3 separate regions of the Homo sapiens genome follow, and all the other regions are linked to region 2. Evidence: promoter capture Hi-C in human tissues and cell types (Jung and others, 2019). All regions are on one chromosome and are shown on one strand. The core of a region is centred on a gene start or on the middle of the fragment in contact, and the rest is flanking DNA. Distances in the headings are between cores, read along the strand shown.

What was found. Contacts are between HindIII fragments. The study calls those that stand out against the background at their distance.
Region 1: a contact is called between the fragment with the promoter of SERTAD1 here and a fragment that was not itself captured in region 2, in 2 of the 25 tissues and cell types used here (IMR-90 fibroblasts and spleen).
Region 3: the fragment with the promoter of CYP2A7 here is called in contact with a fragment that was not itself captured in region 2 in 3 of the 25 tissues and cell types used here (lymphoblastoid cells, small bowel and spleen).

Annotation. Positions count from the first base shown.
Region 1 is chr19:40,422,810-40,427,366 of GRCh38, reverse strand. SERTAD1 (SERTA domain containing 1) reads left to right here and starts at 1,375. Exons shown (of 2, transcript NM_013376.4): 1 at 1,375-1,500; 2 at 3,821-4,557. The coding sequence starts at 3,821. The coding sequence ends at 4,531. RefSeq lists a silencer at 1,918-2,007 and an enhancer at 2,050-2,852. The HindIII fragment of the contact is 15,089 bases long and covers 1-4,557 here.
Region 2 is chr19:40,658,283-40,662,823 of GRCh38, reverse strand. No RefSeq gene overlaps it. Among named protein-coding and RNA genes, the nearest start is that of NUMBL, 30 kb to the left of the region's middle. The HindIII fragment of the contact is 4,666 bases long and covers 1-4,448 here.
Region 3 is chr19:40,880,655-40,885,269 of GRCh38, reverse strand. It overlaps CYP2A7 (cytochrome P450 family 2 subfamily A member 7), which reads left to right and starts at 3,039. Exons shown (of 9, transcript NM_000764.3): 1 at 3,039-3,239; 2 at 3,519-3,681. The coding sequence starts at 3,060. The HindIII fragment of the contact is 10,061 bases long and covers 1-4,615 here.

The DNA of each region.
Region 1 (4,557 bases), core at 126-2,625, 230 kb after region 2:
AGGAGTATTATACCCTGTCTACCTCTAGCCCCATCCTGCATGTCTATCCACCTTGAACTAAGAGCTTGTCTTATTACAACAGCTATTACTACTAACAAAGAAACAACGTTGCTAACCAGGCATGGTGGTGTGCGCCTGTAGTCCCAGCTGCTTGGGGGTCTGAGGCAGGAGGATGGCTTGAACCTGGGAGGCTGCAGTGAGCCGAGATGGCACCCCTGCACTTCAGCCTGGGTGACAGAGCGAGACCCTGTCTCAAAAGCAAAATAAAATAAAATAAAAAGTAAAGAAAAAAATAATAAGCAGCTGGGCGCGGTAGCTCACGCCTGTAATCCCAACACTCAGGGGCCGAGGAGGGCGGATCACCTGAGGTGAGGAGTTTGAGACCTGCCTGGCTAACATGGTGAAACCCCATCTCTACTAAAAATACAAAAATTAACCGGGCGTGGTGGCGCACGCCTGTAGTCCCAGCTACTCGGGAGGCTGAGGCAGGATAATTGCTTGAACCTGGGAGGCGGAGGTTACAGTGAACCGAGATCGTGCCCCTGCACTCCAGCCTGGGCGACGGAGTGAGAATCTGTCTCAAATAAATAAATAAATAAATAAATAAAATGAAAAAAAAAAAAAAAACACAAAACATGTTGCACCCCACTCTGAAGATTTTTCATGAATTAATTTAATCCTTAAAAACAATCCTGTAAACTAGGCGCTATTTTCTCTCATTTTAAAGGAGAAACAGACCAGAAGGGATTAAAACACTTGCCGCAGGTCACACAGCTGCTTAGGGAATGGAGCCCGGGATGTGATTCCGTTGGTATCGCACTCCCACCTCACTCCCGCCTTTAACCACAATTAAGTCCAACTGTCCAGCATTGCTTGAGTGTGGTATTGTGTTCTTATAGATACGATCCTACTTAAAGTATCCTGTCAAGAGGTAGGCAAGACGATCCCCATTTAACTTTGTGTAGCTTGAAGAGGTTGATCATTTTTCCAAGGTCACGCATCCAGTGAGTGGGGAATCCGGAGTCGGAATTTGAACCCGGGCATTATCTGTAGTGTAGACCCCTGTCGGGGCTGGATGTGTAAGAAGCTTAATTGCCGGGTTTGGCAGGTGCATGGGTAGTTGTGAGGGGCTCGTATTTTGAGAGGCAAAAGCCCCCACTCGCCACCGTTCCCCGGAGTAAAAAGCCACCTCTTTCCACCCCTCACTCGCGCAGCTGCCCGGGCATGCGCCCTGAAGCCCCTCCTTCAGAATCCGCCCCCTACAAGCTCCGCCCATCACCATGCAGGGCCAATCCCTGGGGCGGAGGGCGGGGCAGCCACGAGAGTGGGCGGTCGCTAAGGGTAGTTAGGAGTCTGGAGTCGTGAGCCGGAGTCAGAACTGCGTCTCGCGACCCAGGCGCGGGTTTCCGGAGGACAGCCAACAAGCGATGCTGCCGCCGCCGTTTCCTGATTGGTTGTGGGTGGCTACCTCTTCGTTCTGATTGGCCGCTAGTGAGCAAGGTATGTAAATGAAGGGGCCTGGGAACAGAAGGGCTACCAGCGGCCGGGTCCTTCACAGAGTTCGATCCCTGGGTCCGACAGGTGCCCGCCGGGGCTGCCCGGGATCGAGACGCACGGACCTCTACGTGCTGTCTGCCCCGGCCGGGCCGGGTGAATCACGCCGCAGTCCGAGAAGGGGGCGGAGGCGCCGGCTTCTTGGCTCCGGCTGCGTGACTCACCCGCCCCCGCCGCCGCCGCTTCGGGAGGAGCCGCCTCCACTGCCGGAAGCGAGCGGAGGCCGGGCGCAGAGAACAGCCCGCCAGGGGTCCCGGCTCGCACGGCGCCGGGAGGCCGGCAGGAATCACAGCCGGGAATCGGGGCAGTAGAAGGGGTCCTGGGGTCAGAGGGGCCAGAATCCCCGGGGGAAAGCCGGCCTGGGCACCGCTAGGGGGCGCCGGGACCCGGGGGCGGAGTCGGGGGTGGGGGCGGAATTCCTGCGGTTCCGGACTCCCCGGACTGCGGGGAAGGGGACGAAGACCCTGTTTTGAGTAGTGTGGTGGGCCATTCTTAAAATCTTGCTAGGCAGGGTTCCGAAACTGGACTCTACAGTCTTCCTGGCCCAAAAAAGTAGGTAGCGCCAGGAGTCCAAAACTCCAGCCCTACCCCCGCCACTCCAAGAACAGTGGACCCTCAAACTTATCTCAGTGACTGAACCCGGTGCCGATCACGATTTCCCGACAAGCCCTGTCTATTCTGCCTCCCAAATAAGTCCTGACTCGACCGACTTCCTTCCATGCCACTACCAGCTCCTACTCCAGGCCATCACCATCGTCCGTCCCAAACGAGTACAGCCTACCAGTGGGTCTCAGATCCCCCCTCTTTTTGCCCCCCACAGTCTTCCTCGAAGCAGCCATGGGGGGGATCTTCCGGAAACCTAATCAGCTCACAGCACCATTCCCTCCCTGCTCAAATTCCTTTAATGACTGCCCACCACACTCAGGATAAAATCCAAACTCCCTACTTCTGCATATGTGGCTTTCTGTGACCTGGCTTGTGCCCGTTCCCCTAGCTGCTCCCCAATCTGGTCTCCTACCATGTCACTCTCTGTGTGCCACCCATGCTGGTCTCTTTCCAGTTCAAGCCCATCCAGCCTCTGGGCTTTTCTCTGCCTTTTTTTGTTGTTCCCTCCTCCCGGAATGCTTTTCCCAGGGTCTCCCATGGCTGACTTCTCTGGCCTGAGGGCTCCATTCAAATGTCACCTCCTTACAGGAGCCTTCTCTGATGATCTAAAAGGTCTCTAGGAACTTTTAGTGTCTTCCTGTAATTCTCTGTACATTTCCTGTGTTTCCTTATTTATTTACTGTTTGAAACATAGTCATAGTAGACAATAAATATTAAACTACGTGAAACTAGTTTAGTATTTATAATATTATAACTTATTTAGATATAATTATGTTATTATAATAAAATATGTGAAACAGCTGCTTTTGTAGGGGAAAAAGTTGAATATTGGCCATTCCACATGGTTCACTGAAGAAATAATAATGTTATCATTAAGTGTACTTATTGGCAGGGTGAGGCAGCTCACACTTGTAATCTCAGTACTTTGGGAGGCTGAGGAAGGAGGATGGCTTGAGGCAAGGAGTTTGAGACCACCCTGGGCAACATAGTGAGACCATGTCTCTACAAAAAAATAAAAGGGAAAAAAAAAAGTACTTATTGACTGAGGGGGGAGGATCGCTTCAGGCCAGGAGTTTGAGACCAGCCTGGGCAATATAGTGAGACCCCATCTTTATTTTTTCAGATAAAAAAGTCTATAAATATACTTAAATATAAAATTTAAAATTTAAGAAGTCTATAGGCCAGGCGCGGTGGCTCACGCATGTAATCCCAGCACTTTGTGAGGCAGAGGTGGGCGGATCACTTGAGGTCCAGGAGGTCGAGACCAGCCTGGCCAACATGGTGAAACCATGCTTCTTCTAAAAATATAAAAATTAGCCGGGTGTGGTGGCATGTGCCTGTAATCCTAGCTTTTGGGGAGGCTGAGGCACGAGAATCATTTGAACCTGTGAGGCAGAGGTTGCAATGAGCTGAGATCACGGCATTACACTCCAGCCTGGGCAACAGAGCGAGACTCCATCTCAAAAAAAATCTATAAATATACATATACAGTTAAATAAAAATTGTCTATATCTTTAAAGTTCCCTAAGAAAAGCTAGGCACAGAGAGGTTAAGTGACTTCCCCAAGATCCTACCTGCAGCAACTGTCAGATCCAGGCTTTGAACTTAACATTTGTTTTCTATAACTGACTATAACTCCATAACTCCCTGCCCTCTGCAGATGCTGAGCAAGGGTCTGAAGCGGAAACGGGAGGAGGAGGAGGAGAAGGAACCTCTGGCAGTCGACTCCTGGTGGCTAGATCCTGGCCACACAGCGGTGGCACAGGCACCCCCGGCCGTGGCCTCTAGCTCCCTCTTTGACCTCTCAGTGCTCAAGCTCCACCACAGCCTGCAGCAGAGTGAGCCGGACCTGCGGCACCTGGTGCTGGTCGTGAACACTCTGCGGCGCATCCAGGCGTCCATGGCACCCGCGGCTGCCCTGCCACCTGTGCCTAGCCCACCTGCAGCCCCCAGTGTGGCTGACAACTTACTGGCAAGCTCGGACGCTGCCCTTTCAGCCTCCATGGCCAGCCTCCTGGAGGACCTCAGCCACATTGAGGGCCTGAGTCAGGCTCCCCAACCCTTGGCAGACGAGGGGCCACCAGGCCGTAGCATCGGGGGAGCAGCGCCCAGCCTGGGTGCCTTGGACCTGCTGGGCCCAGCCACTGGCTGTCTACTGGACGATGGGCTTGAGGGCCTGTTTGAGGATATTGACACCTCTATGTATGACAATGAACTTTGGGCACCAGCCTCTGAGGGCCTCAAACCAGGCCCTGAGGATGGGCCGGGCAAGGAGGAAGCTCCGGAGCTGGACGAGGCCGAATTGGACTACCTCATGGATGTGCTGGTGGGCACACAGGCACTGGAGCGACCGCCGGGGCCAGGGCGCTGAGCCCTCGTGCTGGAATGGTTGTCTGG
Region 2 (4,541 bases), core at 866-3,365:
CGCCTGTAATCCCAGCACTTTGGGAGGCCGAGGCAGGTGCATTACCTGAGGTCAGGGGTTCAAGACCAGCCTGGCCAAAATGGCGAAACCCCGTCTCGACTAAAAATGCAAACATTAGCCGGACGTGGGGGCGGGCGCCTGTAGTCCCAGCTACCCGGGAGGCTGAGGCAGGAGAATCGCTTGAACCCGGTAGGTGGAGGTTGTAGTGAGCCGAAATCGAGCCACTGCACTCCAGTGATAGAGGGAGACTCGGTCTCAAAAAAAAAAAAATTGCTGTCGCATTCATGAACATTATACTTCAGGCCCTGGCTCAGCCATTCACCCCTCTGGGAAGTCCTCCCTGACTGGTCGGGCGCCTCCTTTGGGCTCCTATGGTTCCTTATGCTCCTCAACTGGGCCTGTACCTCCCCGCCCTGGCCCGGATCCGTCTGCCTGTACATCTCCCATCTGGACCTCGACCCCTTTGCCCTCTGCCTGCACCTCACCAGTCCCCGCCCCGACCCCTCTGCCTGTGCCCCCCATTCCAGCCCAACCTCTCTGCCCGGGCTTCCCCCATCCTGGCCTCCCACCCCTCTGCCTGTCCCCTCCCCACCATCCCGCCGTGATGGCTCTAGGCTGTCACTGTCTATAATGGGTCGGCGTCCCCGCCCTGCACAGAAAACCTCATGAGGGCAGGGAAGAGAGCTGTCTTGATAACTACTGAGTCCTCAGTATTACCAAGGTAACATTTATTTCCTCCCTCAACACTGGTTTTGTTTTAACAGCTTTACTGAGGTATAATCTACCTGTCATAAAATTCACCTATTATAAGTGATTTACTGATTTTGGGTGATTTTACAGTTCTGCAGCCATCACAGCCAATTCAAGAACATTTCCATCACTCTGAAAAGATCCCTTCTGCCCATTTGCAGTCGCTCCCTATTCCCTGTCCCAGCCCCAGGCAACCACTGGTCTACTTTCTGTCCCATACATATTCTCTTCTTCATTTTACAAGCATTTTCTGAATATTTATTTTTATCAGCTATTGAGGGCTGAGGGTACACAATGAAACTCACAGGCCCTGCCTTCAGGGAACTCAGAGTCTGGTTATTGTAATAGCTGATGGGAAAATATGTCCATGCACTAATTTCTTCATTCATTCAAAAAACATTTATTGGCCAGGCACTGTGGCTTGTGCCTGTAATCCCAGCACTTTGGGAGGCTGATTGGGGAGGGTCACTTGAGGCCAGGAGTTCAAGACCAGCCTGGAAAATATAGTGAGACCCCCCCCCCCACCCCGATCTCTACAAAAAAATTTTTTTTTTTAATTATCAAGGTGTGGTGGTGCACACCTATAGTCCCAGTAACAGGAAGCTGAGGTGGGAGGATTGCTTGAGCCCAGGAGGTCGAGGCTGCAGTGAGCCATGATTGTGCCACTGCACTCCAGCCTGGGTGACAGAACAAGACCATCTCTACAGAAAAAAAAAAAAAAAAAAAAAAGAGAGAAAAAGAAGGGTCTTCCAAAAATTCATGGAAAATGTGTATTATGAAAAAACTATGCATGGAGTTCAATTTTTTTTTTTTGCACCAAAATAAATTCATACTAACTTGTTATAACTTGTCTGAACAGGACCTAGTTTGAGACACTAAAATAAAACATCAGATTGAAAAGAGCCCCTATCAGAGCAACACGAATTCTAAAATTGAAGCAAGAACAAGCATCAAATTGATGGTGAAGCTTGGGTGGAAGAATGATGAAATCATTGATGTTTTCCAAAAACTTGACAGTGCCCCAGAGAAATCAGCCATTTACAAATGGATAACTCGTTTTAAGAAGGGACAAGTTCGGGCGTGGTGGTTCACGCCTGTAATCCCAATACTTTGGGAGGCTGAGGCCAGCGGATCATTGGAGCTCAGGAATTCGAGACCAGCCTGGGTAACATGGTGAAACCCCATCCGTACAAAAAATACATAAATTAGCTGGGTGTGGTGGTGCACACTTGTAGTTCCAGCTACTCAGGAGGCTGAGGTGGGAGGATCACTTGAGTCTGGGAGGTAGAGGTTGCAGTGAGCCGTGATTGCGCCACTGCACTCCAGCCTGGGTCATGCTGAAGATGAAGCCCACCGTGGCATACCATCCACATCAATTTTTGCAGAAAAAAATTAAATTTGTTTATGCCTTAATTAAAGAGGACTTACAGTTAACAGCAGAAACAATAGCCAACACCATAGACATCTCAATTGGTACAGCTTACACAATTCTTTTTTCTTTTTTTTTTTTTTTTTTTTTGAGACAGGGTTCTCATACTGTCGCCCAGGCTGAGTACAGTGGTGAGATTGTGGCTCACTGCAGCCTCAACCTCCTGGGCTCAAGCGATCCTTCCACCTCAGCCTCCGAAGTAGTTGGAACTACAGGTGCGTGCCAGCACGTTCAGCTAAGTGTCACACGCGTCCCTGTGAAGAGACCACCAAACAGGCTTTGTGTGAGCAACAAGGCTGTTTATTTCACCTGGGTGCAGGCAGGCTGAGTCCAAAAAGAGAGTCAGCAAAGGGTGGTGGGATTATGATTAATTCTTATAGGTTTTGGGATAGGCGGTGGAGTTTGGAGCAATGTTTTGCGGGCAGGGGGCGGATCTCACAAAGTTCATTCTCAAGGATGGGAAGAATTACAAAGAAACTTCTTAAGGGTGGGGGAGATTACAAAGTACATTGATCATTAGGGTGGGGCAGAAACAAATCACAATGGTGGAATGTCATCAGTTAAGGCTATTTTCACTTCTTTTGTGGCTCTTCAGTTGCTTCAGGCCACCTGGATGTATACGTGCAGGTCACAGGCGATATGATGGCTTAGCTTGGGCTCAGAGGCCTGACACTAAATTTTCGTATTTTTTGTAGAGATGGGGGTCTCATTAGGTTTCCCAGGCTGGTCTTGAACTCCTGGACACAAGTGATCCTCCTGCCTCATTCTCCCGAACTGCTGGGATTACAGGCTTGAGCCACCTCACCCGGCCTCAGCTTACACAATTCTGACTGAAATTAAAGCTAAACAAACTTTCCACTCGATGGGTGCCAGAACGGTCGCACCCAGATCAGCTGCAGAGAAGAGCAGAGCTTTCCATGGACATGCTAAACAAGTGAGATCGAGATCCTAATGCATTTCCTTGAAGGATTGTAACGGGAAATGATACATGGTTTCACGGGTGCAATCCTAAAGACAAATCGTAATCAGAGAATGATTGCCAAGAGCGGGGAAGTGATCCAGTCAAGGCAGAAGCACACTGGTCAAGAGCAAAGGTCATAGCAACAGTTTTTGGGGATGCTCAAGGCATTTTGCTGGTTGACTTTCTGTAGGGTCAAAGAATAATAAGATCTGCTTATTATGAGAGTGTTTTGAGAAAGTTAGCCGAAGCTTTAGTAGAAATAAGCCTGGGAAGCTTCACCAGAGAGTTCTTCTCCAGCATGTCTACGCTTCTGCTCATTCTCCTCATCAAACGAGCAATTTTACAAGTTTTGATGGGAAATTATTAGGCATCCACTTGGCAGTCCCAATTTGGCTCCTTCTGACTTTTTGTTTCCTAATCTTAAAATCTTTGAAGGGCACCCATTTTTCTTCAGTTAAGAATGTAAAAAGACTGGGCTGGGCGGAGTGGCTCACGCCTGTAATCTTAGCATTTTGGGAGGCCAAGGAGGGTGGATCACCTGAGGTTGGGAGTTCAAGACCAGCCTGACCAACATGGCAAAACCCTGTCTCTACTAAAAAAAAAAATACAAAAATTAGCCAGGTGTGGTGGCTCATGACTGTAATCCCAGCTAGTCGGGAGGCTGAGGCAGGAGAATCACTTGAACCCAGGAGGTGGAGGTTGCAGTGAGCCGAGATCATGCCACTGCACTCCAGCCTGGGCAACAAGAACAAAAAAAAAAGGCCTGGCACAGTGGCTCACAACTGTAATGCTAGCACTTTGGGAGGCCGAGGCGGGCAGATCACCTGAAGTTAGGAGTTTGAGACCAGCCCGGCCAACTTGGCAAAACCTCGTCTCTACTAAAAAAAAAAAAATTAGCCAGATGTGGTGGTACATGCCTGTAGTCCCAGCTACTCAGGAGGCTGAGGCAGGAGAATGGCTTGAACCCGGGAGGCAGAGGTTGCAGTGAGCCGAGATCATACCACTGCACTCCAGCCTGAGCAACAGAGTGAGATTCCATCAAAAAAAAAAAGAAAGAGAAAATGTAAAAAGGCTGCACTGACATGATTAAATTCCTGGGACCCTCAGTTATTTAGGGATAGACTAAATGGCTGGTATAATGGTTTACAAAAGTGTCTTGACTTTGACCTTGATGGAGTTTATGGTGAGAAATAAAGATTTTTTTAAAATTTTTATCTCTTAATTCCATTCTCCATCAACTTTTTGAATTCCCCTCATAACACAATAGCAATTTGTAGCTCATACCTATAAGCTTAGATAGCATACAGTAGCTCATACCTATAAGCTTAAGTAGACATTTACATAACTTTTAGATATCTATAGTACGTAGATAGCTACAGATCAATGTAGATGTCGAAAGAG
Region 3 (4,615 bases), core at 1,790-4,289, 220 kb before region 2:
CTCCATGGGGTAAAGCTTGGCTGTGCTGAGGAAGGGATGGCGAAGGAGGTTCCCAAAGACTCTGTCCCTTTCCTCCTTCCCAAAGGAAAAGATTTGTGAGCTTTAGACTAGAGAATGTAAAAGCAAGGAATGTGCTTAGGGAACATCTCATCAATCTGCTTCATCCTACAGATTAAAGAGAACAACTACCATTCATTGAGCACTTACTGCCATGTACCTCATCTGCATTAACACATATACTTCTCCCCTAAATAGCCAAAGAGGTAGGAGCTGTTCTTGGCTCCATAAGACTCAGAGAGATGAAGTCAGCTGTTCAAAGCCACACAACAAAGAAAGGATAAGGTTAGGATTCCAATCCAGGCCTTAATCATTGCACCATCCATTCAGAAAGGGAAACTGAGGCCCAGCAAAGGAAAGGGATCTTCCTGGGCTCGCCACTAACTCACTCTGAAAGCCTGTTCCCAAGACACTGCCCACTGGGACAAGTCCCTCCCACATGATTTCAGACACCATTCTCTCACTCCATGCTCTAGGGTAATCAACAAGTCCAAAATTCATTGACCTCTATGTCCACAAATACTAGAGTTCTCCCAACCTGTCTCTCCCCATCCCCTCCCTGGCCAGGTCATGGCAACCTGCTGATCACTCAGTGCACTTCTTAGTGCCAACCCCACTGAGAAACAAACTCCTCAGATTTCTGTCTCCCACCTTTTTAAGAAACAAGAAGGAAAAGGAGGAGCCAGGCCCAGGTGCAGGCTGGTGAACAGGATTAGAGGGATTGATATCTGCCAAGCTGGTGCTAATCTTCCTTTCCACCTCTTCCCCTCCAAAATCAACAAACAACTTTCCTCTCTCTGCCTTGTTCTCTGACCTTTGTTCCCTCCACACAGGTCTCAGAGCTCAGCATCCTAGAACAGTTTGAGCAAGATGTCAGTCCTGGGGGTGCCAACCTCACCCACCTCCACTTGTCCAAAGTTGGTGACCCAGAGGACAGGTGCAACCCTAAATGGTCCAACCACCAGAGCCTGTCCTGTGGCCATCTGGGGCCCCTCTCAGGGTCTGGCTGAGGCTCATCTCAGACCCACATAGGACCAATATCAGCACCTGCCTCATGCTCATGTCAGAGCCCACTGGGACCAACCTCAGACCCTATATGGTGCCACCCTTATGCCCTCCTGAAGCAGGACACTCTTATGCCCTCAATGACACCTGAGACAACACACAGAGCCCTCTTGGCACCAAACATGACTTCAATATTCTCCTGGTGTCAAGTTCAGTGCCAACTTGTTTCCCATCCTCGCATACACCTGGGGGCAGTCCCAAAGCCAACACGATGCCTTTCCCTCCCTGGCCATACCTGATGCTGATATCAGAACCCGCCAATGTCATCAGTGTGTCCACTGCTGATGCCAGTCTCAGCACTCACCTCCTGCTAAGGCTGGCCCGCACTTGACTCCCAGGGTGATCTAGGCCAGTCAATGAAGGGGGGCGAGGAGAAAGTTCACATCCCAGCTCCCTCACTTACTCCCTGTGTGACCTCACTCAAGAGGGTTTATGGAGTCTAGATCTGCTCATCTTCAAAATGAGGATGATCACGATGAACCAACCTCACTGTTACAAAGATTCAACCAGATCATACACACCTAGACTTAATCTTCCCATATATGACCATGCTCACCAAAGGGTAACTGTCCTGTTTACTAAGGAAGAATTTCCCTGAAGGAAGGACAGGAGGGCTACTCATCCCTTCTCCACTCACACCCACCCCAGGATCTGCCTCTGTGCCTAACACTGGAGTTTACCCCAATCTCTTCTGCGACTGTTCCCTCTGCCTGCTAATAGTAGTAGCCCCTGACAAAGCAGGAATCGCCCTTAAAGGAGACTTAACTCACCCTCAAATGTGATCTTCTCTTCCCAAACACTCCCTTTCCACTGGCAGGAAAACCAAATCCAGAAAGGGGAACTAAGTACACAGAGCAGGAGAGATGGGAGTTCAGGGCCACTCACACATGTCCCCTGCCCACTGTCTGTTTTCTGTCCTCTGTAGATCTTTATATAAAATGAGAAACATAAACAACAATCATAATATTAATAGGGATGATACAATCAATCTAGTGGGTTTCCCTGAGGATCTGGGTTGGAAACCAGCGGACAACCCTTGGGACACTTGAGATTTTTCCACCATTTGGGGGTTGTTATTACTATTTCTCCAGACCTAGCCAATCCCTCTGCCAACCGCTAACTCCAGGTACTCTTCTCCAGGTGTGGGGAAAGTTCCCCTGAAATATGGCCCTGGTCTTCCACCCCTTTCCCAACCAGAGATGGGCAGTGGAGGTTCCATGGCACCCATCCTGGCCTCACTCTGAGGTTCCAATGAGGATTCTGGGCATCAAGAGATAGCTCTGGGCAAAAGCAAAATCAAGTCAGCCCCTGGGCCCATTGCTGGGCTGCTGGGCTTTCTGGGAGCACCTGCTGGCTTGCTACACACTCCTCCTCCCAGAAACTCCACACCCACAGCCCTGGGTCTTCCTAGCCCCGAGACTTTCAAGTCCATATGCCTGGAGTCCCCCCTCCTGAGACCCTTAACCCTGCATCCTCCGCAACAGAAGACCTCCAGATGCACAGCCACACTTCCATCTCACCCTAATAAAACCCAGACCTTTGGATTCCTCTCCCTTGGAATGCCCAAATCCACAACTTTGGGGTGCATTCTCACTCTCAGACCCCAAATCCAAAGCCCAAGTGCTCCCCTATGCAAATATTCCAAACTCTTCAGTTCTACAGTTTATCGGTTGCCCCCTCCTAAATCCACAGCCCTGCGGCACCCCTCCTGAAGTACCACAGATTTAGTCTGGAGGCCCCCTCTCTGTTCAGCTGCCCTGGGGTCCCCTTATCCTCCCTTGCTGGCTGTGTCCCAAGCTAGGTGGCATTCATGGTGGGGCGTGTAGTTGGGAGGTGAAATAAGGTGATTATGTAATTAGCCAAAGTCCATCCCTCTTTTTCAGGCAGTATAAAGGCAAACCACCCCACCCATCACCATCTGTCATCTCACTACCACCATGCTGGCCTCAGGGCTGCTTCTGGTGGCCTTGCTGGCCTGCCTGACTGTGATGGTCTTGATGTCTGTCTGGCAGCAGAGGAAGAGCAGGGGGAAGCTGCCTCCGGGACCCACCCCACTGCCCTTCATTGGAAACTACCTCCAGCTGAACACAGAGCACATATGTGACTCCATCATGAAGGTGTCCCAAGGCAGGAAGATGGGTGGCACAGGGTGGGGGCTGCCTAGTTGGCTGGGGCTTTGTGGCAGGGGATTGACCAGTGTGGACCAGAGTCTTAGGAAAGGGAGTTTTGGAGTTTCAGCATCCGGGTCCTAGCCAGGAAAGACAGGATCTTGGGATGTCCAGCTCCCTGACTGTGAGAACCTGGGGGTGAAGGATCCCAGTACTTGACATCTCGGTGCTGGGCCCCATTCAGAGTGGGGGCTGCTCCCTCTAACCACTCCCACTCGCCTCCATCAGTTCAGTGAGTGCTATGGCCCCGTGTTCACCATTCACTTGGGGCCCCGGCGGGTCGTGGTGCTGTGTGGACATGATGCCGTCAGGGAGGCTCTGGTGGACCAGGCTGAGGAGTTCAGCGGGCGAGGCGAGCAAGCCACCTTCGACTGGGTCTTCAAAGGCTATGGTGAGGGGGTGCCCAAGATGGGGAAGGTGGCCAGGCGGACACGATGGTCTCAGTGTTGCCAGCCTTCTCCCTGACTCTCCTGCCCACTGGAGGCTATGGCAGAACCCCCGGTCTGGTCTTATCTCCCCATCTCCCTTCACTGTGGCCTCTCCATGTGTATCCCTCACCTGTCTCCAGCGTCCCTGTCGTGATTCCTCCCTGCCTCTCTCTGCCCCACCTCCTTATTCTCTCTCACTGGAGTCTCCTCTTTCCCCTCTCTCTCCATCTCTGAGGACATCCTGGGTTTCTGTTTTCCAGCCCTGGTCCTCTGTCTTCATTTGTCTTTTTGTTGCTCTCAGCTTCTGTGCTTCTCCATGTTTCTCCTCTCTCCACTTCCCTCTCTCACTTTTTCCTCTCCCTTAGGATTTCATGCTATTCTTACTTCCACATCTCCAGCCTCCATCTCCTGGTAACAGTCTCTCTTCCTTCCAGACCCTCTCTGTTTCTGTCTCAGTATTTTTCTCTCTTCTCCAGCTCAGCTTAAGAATGTTTCACCATTTTTATTTCCTCCTCCCAGATCTCCCCATATCTCACTTCCCCTCCCTCCATCCTCTTCCTCCATCTCTCTCTTTCTCTCCCCACTTCCTACCCTTCCTCCATGGAGTATCCCCTTATCCCTCTGTTTCTCTGCGCATCTCTATCTGGCCTTTCTGTTTCTCTTCTGATTCTCTTATTCTTTCTACCCGGTCTCTCTCTCTCTCTCTCTCTCTCTCTCTCTCTCTCTCTCTCTCTCTCTCTCTCTCTCTCTCTCCCTCGTGTTTCTCTGACTGAGTTTGCACCTGTCCTGGGCACTGGCACTGAATCCATCTCTCTCCCACCCCACTACCCCTCTGCTCCACCCTTGGGGAGCCCCTTGGAACTGGTCCGCTCCTGCCACCGCCGCCCCCTGACCTCT